Regions from separate parts of the Homo sapiens genome. Here all the other regions are linked to region 1. Evidence: promoter capture Hi-C in human tissues and cell types (Jung and others, 2019). All regions are on one chromosome and are shown on one strand. The core of a region is centred on a gene start or on the middle of the fragment in contact, and the rest is flanking DNA. Distances in the headings are between cores, read along the strand shown.

The links. The method cuts DNA at HindIII sites, captures the fragments that hold promoters and counts their contacts. A contact is called where the count stands out against the background at its distance.
Region 2: a fragment that was not itself captured here is called in contact with the fragment with the promoter of PAQR5 in region 1 in 3 of the 25 tissues and cell types used here (IMR-90 fibroblasts, dorsolateral prefrontal cortex and small bowel).
Region 3: a contact is called between a fragment that was not itself captured here and the fragment with the promoter of PAQR5 in region 1, in 2 of the 25 tissues and cell types used here (adrenal gland and aorta).

Annotation. Positions count from the first base shown.
Region 1 is chr15:69,297,398-69,300,161 of GRCh38, reverse strand. PAQR5 (progestin and adipoQ receptor family member 5) reads right to left here and starts at 1,250. Exons shown (of 9, transcript NM_017705.4): 1 at 1,106-1,250. PAQR5-DT (PAQR5 divergent transcript) reads left to right here and starts at 1,399. Exons shown (of 3, transcript NR_184010.1): 1 at 1,399-1,684. The HindIII fragment of the contact is 6,076 bases long and covers 1-2,764 here.
Region 2 is chr15:69,223,293-69,226,355 of GRCh38, reverse strand. The region is part of intron 2 of GLCE (glucuronic acid epimerase); the gene reads right to left. Among named protein-coding and RNA genes, the nearest start is that of GLCE, 64 kb to the right of the region's middle. The HindIII fragment of the contact is 3,998 bases long and covers 1-3,063 here.
Region 3 is chr15:69,195,263-69,198,124 of GRCh38, reverse strand. The region is part of intron 1 of GLCE (glucuronic acid epimerase); the gene reads right to left. Among named protein-coding and RNA genes, the nearest start is that of GLCE, 36 kb to the right of the region's middle. The HindIII fragment of the contact is 3,496 bases long and covers 1-2,862 here.

The DNA of each region.
Region 1 (2,764 bases), core at 1-2,500:
ACCTAGGGGGGTGGGGAGTGGGGTAAAAGAAACAAACCTCTGCTGAGTCAAGGGCACTGCAAGAATGCAGAAGCGACCATGCAGCTCTGGAAGGATGCGGTGGGAAACCCGCCACTCAGTGGTGGAGAAAAGCCCACCAGTTTCTCCAGCAAATGGCTGAGCTTTGTTGGGCCTCCTTGTCTTCTCATCTGCCCATGTGTTAATATCTACTCGCCATTGGTTTGTTAGGTTCAAATGAAATCAGGGATGTGTCCCTTTTTGGCTGCTAGCTCTTCTCAGATCCCCTGACCTCTCCCCATCTCTTCTCTATGGCTCTGCGTGGGAAGGGGCAGTTGTCACCCCCGACTCCCACTAAGCTGAGCCCTCCTCCCAACCTAAGCGGGAGGAAGCCGGTTCTGCTCACGGATAAGAGTTACCGGGCTCCTGAGTTCTTGTTCTGCTGGGCCGGGGTCCACCCCCTCTCCTGGGCTCATCCGACTAGGACTTGGGAAGTGCTAGGGGAGCCAGGAGATGCCCAGCTGGGGGCTGTGGCCGGGGGGAGGCCAATGACAGAGCAGGGGGAACTCCCTGTAGCTGGGCACCCACTTCAACAGGGCCGGGACGACCCCCGCAGGCAGTGGGCCGCCCCTCACCCACACGGTCCTGCTCAGCCCAGGCTCACATCTGGGCTCAGGAGGCGGGAAGCACAGGTGTAAAGAAATCGCCAACTGTGCAGCCCCAATCCAAGGGTTTTATTAAAGTGGGGGCGGCGGGAGGGGGGCGGTGGAGGAAGGATAAGCGGCGCAAACGCCCTGGAGAGTGAGAGAAAAGGTGCGAGAAGGCAACAGCTCCCCTCACCGCCCTCGATTGCAGCAGAGAGCCTTCTGCACGGCGGCGGCCGCCCCACCTTCACACCGGCCCCGCGTGCGGTGAAAGTGGCCGAGCCGCGCCGCCGCCGGATCAGGGCCGCCCCGGCACAAACTTTCCCAGACCCGCCCTCGGAGCGGCCACCCAGGCTCAACGGGCTCCACGGGCGCAGGGCGGCTGGGGCTGCCGCGGAGGGCGGGTGCGCGTGGACCGGGAGGTGGGGAGGCGGCGCGCGGCGGGGAGTCCCGCCCCGGGTTACCTGGGTTCCAAGGGTCTCGGGAGTCCAGTGGACAGGGCGCGGGGACAGCACAGGCAGGCCGGAGACCAGACACTCCTCCCGGGCTGCGGCGACCCCGGACTCGCGGGCCCTGCACCTGGCCCTGCGGGTCGCCGCGCCTACCCATGCCGGTCCCCGCCCGTCCCCTCCCGCGCGGGGCGGGGCGGCCCCGGGGGAGGAGCCGAGGGCCGTGGGCACCACCCCCTGAGCCAGGCCTGCGCCTCATCACGTGCCACCGACCCTGGGCTCTGTGACTTCCAAAGACTCGCCACCCCATTCCACAGCCTGAGGTGCCACCAAAGCCATAAGCCCAGGGGAGTCTCTCACACCCCATTCTCCTAGGGCCCATGTACCCCACGCCCACCTCCACCCCAGGAGCCGAAGGCCGGCAGGGAGCCTGGAGAGCCTCCTTGATGGGAGAACTGCGGAGCTTGCCCCTCGGAAAAGTGCATGGGGTGGAGAACAGGGAAGGAGAAAAAAACAACAACTGGGTACTCGCAGCCCCACCGCGGTGTCCGCTTCGCCGGTGGGAGAGGATCCTCGCCGCCCTGAATCCTTGAAGTGAGTTCCACCCCTGTCTCTTGGAGTGCTCAGGGTGGCGGGCCCTTTGCCAGCCCTCACCCTTTCCCCAGGGATCCTGTCCCAGGTCACAGGCTCCTAGACTGGAAGGCGCTGGGCCTGGACCTCTGCCACTCAGTGGACACAGCTATAAGAGATGAAGGGACACAGAGGACAAAGAAGAAACATTTGGCTTCAGGGAACCAGACTCTGTGTCTCCTCCCAGGTGCTGAAGGAACAGGTTGCAGCTACCTGGTGCCCCCACCCCGACCCTGCCAGAGAAAGGTTGGAACATCCACACCTGTGGACCGAAGTCCCCCACCAGGCTCTTTCCTCCCACCCTTCAGCCCCAGGCTCTCTGAGCTCCTGCTCCTCCCTGCCTTGCCTTGTTTGCTGAGGGCACACACAGTGGAGAGAGCACAGGACTGGGAGTCCAGAGACCTGGGCTCTAGTCTACTCTGTGACTCGGGTCAAGTCTCTGGCCCTTTGTGGGCCCAAGTTGCCCCATTTGCAGTGAATAGGTTGCAGTCAATTATCTCCGGCCATTTTTACGGATCCTGAACCGTGGTCTTGGGCACCTTGCTTTATTAGGCTTTTTGGTGGCTGTGCATCTTGTAAGGGTGTGTATGCATGTGCGTGTGTGTGTGCGTGCGACATGCGCTTGTCCTCTCAGACCCAAGTTCTTAAAGGGAAAGAGACTGGGGCCTACACAGAGGCAGGCATGTATATTCCACAGACCAGAGTTTGACAAGAATGACTGGACACAAGAGTGGAGCCCAGTCCCAGCTCTATGCTGAATTCAGAGTAGCCTTGGACAAGACCCTCACCATCTACAAAATGGAGATTAATAATCCCTGCTTTGCCTTTCCAAGGCTAGTCGGGGGACTCAGTGAGATATTAGATATGAAGCTCTTTGAAGGGGAATAGCACAGGGATGTGTGCTTTTGATGTCTGGGCCAGTGATGGGTTTGGGGGAAGAATAGGGTGTGAAGCATTCTCTGGGAGGCAAAGGCTGGCACTGGACTGATTGGCCACCCTGCCAAAGCTGCAGCATGCACAGCACAGGCAGGCACCCCACCACCA
Region 2 (3,063 bases), core at 99-2,598, 74 kb after region 1:
TCAGTGTCTATTTAACTTAATAAAGTACTCAGAATTCTATCTAACCTAACACTTCCAACAACAGCAGTGTTTGGAATATTGCCAAAATCATGTTTATTACTTATGAAATAGAGTTTTGAAATGTTCATAATCTGGAATAGAAGTAATATTTGTGTCAAATACTCAATTCTAACTCAATTCACCTAAAGGTAGGTAGTTTAAGTTACAGAAAACGCCATGATCCCAAGATGGTCTAATAACTGTATCTAATAACAAAAGATTAAAATAGGTGTGTGTGTGTCTGTGTGTGTGTGTGTGTGTGTGTGTGTCTGTGCATGCGTGCACACGTGTATGTGTTTAGAGGAGGGAGGTTTGATGAATTTAGGCCCTTAAGTCCAATAAAAATTGGAAACGTCATATATGTAACACTGGGAGGCAGTATAACATAGAAGTTAAGGATGTAGGCTTTTAGCTGTTTTTTTCTGGGTTTGAATCCTGGCTCTATCACTTATTAACTCTGTGTATTTAAGAAAAAGTTTAACTTGTTTATATCTTAGTTTCCTCATATACCATATGGATTTAAAGAATACTTCATAATGTAGTATTAAATGAGTTAATGTACATAAATTGTTTAGATCGATGCCAGGCACAGAGAGAGTACTCAGTAAATGTTAGGAAATATCAGCACTACCACTCTGAAATCAGTAAAAGAATCCTTAGTATGCAAGTCAAAGTTCAAATCTACAAATTTACACATAATTTACAGGAAGTTGTGCATACTTTCAGTCTAATGTCTACTCAAGTTTCAAGACCTTCATTATTCCACAAAAAAATTATTGCTTATACATGATAACCTAATCAACAAGTGTTTACTGAATACCTACTAGGCACTGTGTGTACAAACAAGAGGCATAACAACTGCCCCTCAAAACCTTATAATTATTAACAAATTATTTAGACTATGATATAAGACCATATTTAATTGAATGCTGAACTCTGTGGTACAGAATATAAGTCCTGGTATATCCTAATGTTTACTGAAGACTAAGAGGACAGGGACTTCTATGACAGCCGACGCAAGGATGCCTAGCTTACTGCATACATTCCCAAAACTAAGGGCTTACTCTTTATTATGCCAACTGTAGGGCAGATGAAATAATCTAACCCCTCTCCACCTCTGCCCTGCAAAAAAGAAAAAAAAAAAGCTTTAAAATATTTGGCTAATGAAGCTTTTATTCCTAATACCAATAATCATACCTTTTTAGACATATTATATCACTATGGGTATATGTAGCACCATAAGCCATAGAACCACCAGCATAGTTATCTTGGGCTGCCATTCTAAACACAAAAAACAAAAATCTGATTTATTAGGAACCAAAAAACTATATCACTTATGTTGAGTTTACTATTAACATAATTTCTGCCATAAGAAATCACAGAGGGATTCAAGAAAGATGACAAAGTAGGAACCACCAGGAATCTGTCTCCCAACTTAGACAACAACTGCACTGGCAGAATCTGTCTAAAGTAATTATCTTGGAACTCTGTAGTCCACTGAAGGCTTGCAACTTCCAAGAGAAGGACTAAATGATAAAGTGCATTAATTTGGGTCATTTTCAGCTCTTAACACTGTTGCAGCAAGCCATCCTCCACTCCTAGCTCCCTGGCAGGCAGCTGTGCATGTGCTCCTGGAGCAGTTTGTACTCAGCTTGCAGGAGCCCACGTAGGCAAAAAGGACCTTGTCCTCCAGGTATGGAGATCTGTACTCTGATCACTGATTGTTGCCAAAGATCACATGGGTGTAGTCAAAGAGGCTGCCAGCCATTGTTGTTGCACCTCCTCCCGGTGTTGCAAGAGCCCCCCTGCTCCCCTGAAATGACTTCCAGGGAACTTAAAGGGCCAGAGCCAATTTTTCTTCCTGTATTTATTTTTCTCTTTTTCTCCTTTTGGGAGCCAGACATTAAAGACTGGGACATTCAAAAACAACTGTAAATATGGACAAAACTGGAAAATGATCATGCATGTCCAGGAAAAGATGCAAAGAAAATACCTGGGAAGACCTTAAGTTTATATTTCTATCTCTGACATAGGCTGATCCCTGTTTCCTTACCCAGTCTACAAAAACCAAAAACAATAAACAAAAATAATACTAAAACAACCAGCCCTAGTGAAAGGAGAAAATCTGATTTCCAGACTTAGCACATTAATAGATTTAAATGTCTAGTTTTCAACAACAACAAAAAATCACAAGGCATACAAAGAAACAGGAAAGTATGGCACATTCAAAGGCAAAAAATAAATCATAGAAATCGTCCTTGAAAAAGACCTGATGGCAAATCTACCATAGCTCTTTAAATGCTGTCTTAAAGATGTGCAAAGAACTAAAGGAAGGTGCAGACAGAATCAAGAAAATGATGTATGAAAAACGTGTAAGTATCAGTAGAGCTACAGAACCTAAAAAAGAACCAAAGAGAAATTCTGGAGCTGAGAAGTACAAAATGAAAAATTCACTATATAGATTCAAAGGCATATCTGAGCAGGCTGAAGAATCAGCTAACTTTAAGATAGGACAATTGCAACTATGACTCTGAGGAACAGAAAAAAAAAAGACTGAAGAAAAATGAAGAGAATCTAAGAGATCTGTGGGACACCATCAATTGGATGAGTATATACATTGTGGGAGTTTTGAAAGGAGGAGAAAAGAGAAAGAGGCAAAGAGATCACATGAATAATGATGAAAAACTTCCAAAGTTTGATGAAAGACACGAGTATAAACATCCCAGGAGCTCAACAAACTCCAAGTAGCATGAACTCAGAGACCCATATTGGGATATAGTATAATGAAACTATCGAAAGCCAAAGACAAAGTGAGGATCTTAAAATCAGTAAGAAAGAGACTTATCATATACAAGGGACTCTCAAGAAGGTTATCATCATGTTTCGCATCAGAAACTTTGGAGGCCAGAGGCAGTGGGTTGACATATTCAATGTGCTAGAAGGAAAACAAACAAACAAACAAACAAAAAAATCTGTCAAACAAGAATCCTATATCCGGCAAAAGTGTCCTTCAAAGGTGAAGGA
Region 3 (2,862 bases), core at 104-2,603, 100 kb after region 1:
TAAAAAAAAGAAAAAAGTATACATGTGAGGGGTAAGGTACAGACATAAGAAAGGATATGTATATAAAAAGGCTCAGGCACTGATGTTCTTTAAAAGGGAAGAATGTGAATTATAAGCATCAAAGAAATACAATGGTCACTTTGGAAAACTAAAGGTAATCCCAATTATTTCCCACCTATTCAAGAAAACTGCTGCAGCAATTTTCTCTTCCTTCTACTGCATTGTCAAATATTCCCTCTCTACTGGATTATTCCTGTCACATTAAACATAGAACCAAAAAATTTTTTAAAGCCCACTCTCTTAACTCTACACACCAAATGTGCATAGTTCCCCCTTTACAATAAAACTCAAAAGTGTTATCTACACTCACTGTCTCCACATCTCCCATTTTCTCCTGAATCCATATCAACCAAGCTTTTCATCCCATCTGTCTACCAACTTGCACTTATTTAAGGTCACCAACATCTTCCACATTGCTAAACACAACAATCGATTCTCCGACTTCCTCTTATTTTACCTATGAGCAGTAGCTGACACAAACAATAATTCCGTCCTTGAAATACATGGTTCTCAAAATACCCACCTCTACTGGTTTTAATCTTATTAGGTTGGTGCAAAAGTAATTGCGGTTTTGTACCGTGAATTTTAAATCATTATATTATAACTAGGCTCAAACACATCTTTATTCATCAAAATAGGAAACATTACAATCAACACATTTTTGCCAATGAGAAATAAGTTTATTTATTCCTGTAGTGTAAAAATGTGTGATCTGGGATTCGATAAACTCTTGGAAAGCTTTTTCTGCATTCTGGTTGTGGAAACATCTTCCCTGCAAAAAGTTGCTGAGATGCTTGAAGAAGTGGTAGTCAGTTGGCAAGAAGTCAGGTGAATACGGTGGATGAGGCAAAACTTTGTGCCCAATTCATTCAACTTTTGAAGCGTTGGTTGTGCGACGCATTGTCAGGCATTGTTGTGCCGAAGGACTGGGCCCTTTATGTTGATCAATGCTGGCTGCAGGCGTTGCAGCTTTCCATGCATCTCAGAGATTTGTTGAGCATACTTCTCAGATGTAATGGTTTTGCTGGAACTCAGAAAGCTGTAGTGGATCAGACCGGCAGCAGACCATCAAACAGTGACCATTAACATTTTGGTAGAAGTTTGGCTTTGGGAAGTGCTCTGGAGCTTCTTCTCAGTCCAACCACCAAGCTGGTCATCAGCGGTTGTCATATAAAATCCACTTACCAACGCACGTCACAATCTGATCAAGAAATGGTTCATTGTTGTTACACAAAGTAAGAGAAGACAACACTTCAAAATGACGATTGTTTTTATTTTCAGTCAGCTCATGAGGCACCCACTTATCGAGCTTTTACAACCTTCTAATTTGCTTCAAATGCTGAATGACCGTAGGATGGTTGATGTTGAGTTCTCGGCAACTTCTAGTGTTGTAAGAGGATCAGCTTCGATGATTGCTCTCAATTGGTCGTTGCCAACTTTTGATGGCCGGGCACAACACTCCTCATCTTCACGGCTCTCGTCTCCTTTGCAAAAGTTCTTGAACCACCACTGCACTGTACCTTTGTTAGCAATTTCTGGGCCAAATGCATTGTTGATGCTGCGAGTTGTCTCTGCTGCTTTATGACCCATTTTGAACTTGAATAAGAAAATCACTTGAATTTGCTTTTTGTCTAACATCATTTCCATAGTCTAAATAAATATAAAATAAACAGCAAGTAATAAGTCATTAGCAAAACAAAGCAAGAAATGCACATTAAAATTATGTATAACATAACCACATTTATTTAATAATGTATTCCAATACCAAACAGCAAATTTAAACAATGCAAAAACCGCAATTATGTCTGCACCAGCCTAACACTCCATGCTCACTCCACTTCAGTCACACTAGCCTCCTCCTTGTTCCTTGAACATACTAGGCACACACTTTCCTCAAATCTGTTACCCTTGCTATACCTTAGAACAGGAATGTTCTTCCCTGAGATATCTGTACAGATTCCTTGTAGGTCTTCACTCAAATGTCACAATCCTTCCCAGGCCTGCCCTCCTCCAACTGCCATGCCTTCCAACACTCCCCCATCCCCTTTCCCTCCTTTATTTTGCTATCTGATACAGTATATATTTTATCTGTTAGTTTCAGTTTCCCTCTCAGCTAGAATGTAAGCTCCATAGAGGCAGAAATTTTTGTCTGTTTTGTTTACTGTTGTATGTGATACAACAGTACCTGGCAATAGTAGGAATGGTATTAATATTTGTTTAATGAATGAATGAACCAACCAAGGGAATTCTCTCACTGATTTAATGTAATATAGGGGAGTAATTTAATAGTTTCAAAGGTACCAAAATATTACATTCATATTTCAATCATTGTGATTTGTGTTCTGACAGATTTAACACCCTCATTATACACACCAGGGCTATATTAAATTAGTTTGCATTCCCCTGAAAACATACCAATCAGGAGAAAACATCCAGAATTGTCTTAGACAACAAGGAGCAACACGACTGATTTTAAAAAATAGTTTTCCATGGATAATCTAAAGTAGACAATCCACATACAATATGTCACAAAATCTGATACAGACTTTCAAAGTCTAGAGGTGAAAGAGAAGGTAAGTAAAAATTTCAAATTTTGTTAATACACACAAACACACACACACACAAACTCTAAGGAGATTTTATCAATTCTTTCATAGGTAACTTGTAACCTTTGATGTGTTTTCCATCCATTTTCCAATATACGTATTTTTTTACTTCTCTTTTTCTAAGCTATCAGTGATTTTAAAAAAAAAATTTAGCTGAGACTATATTTACACAGTGTCCCAAAGATAAAAACAAGAC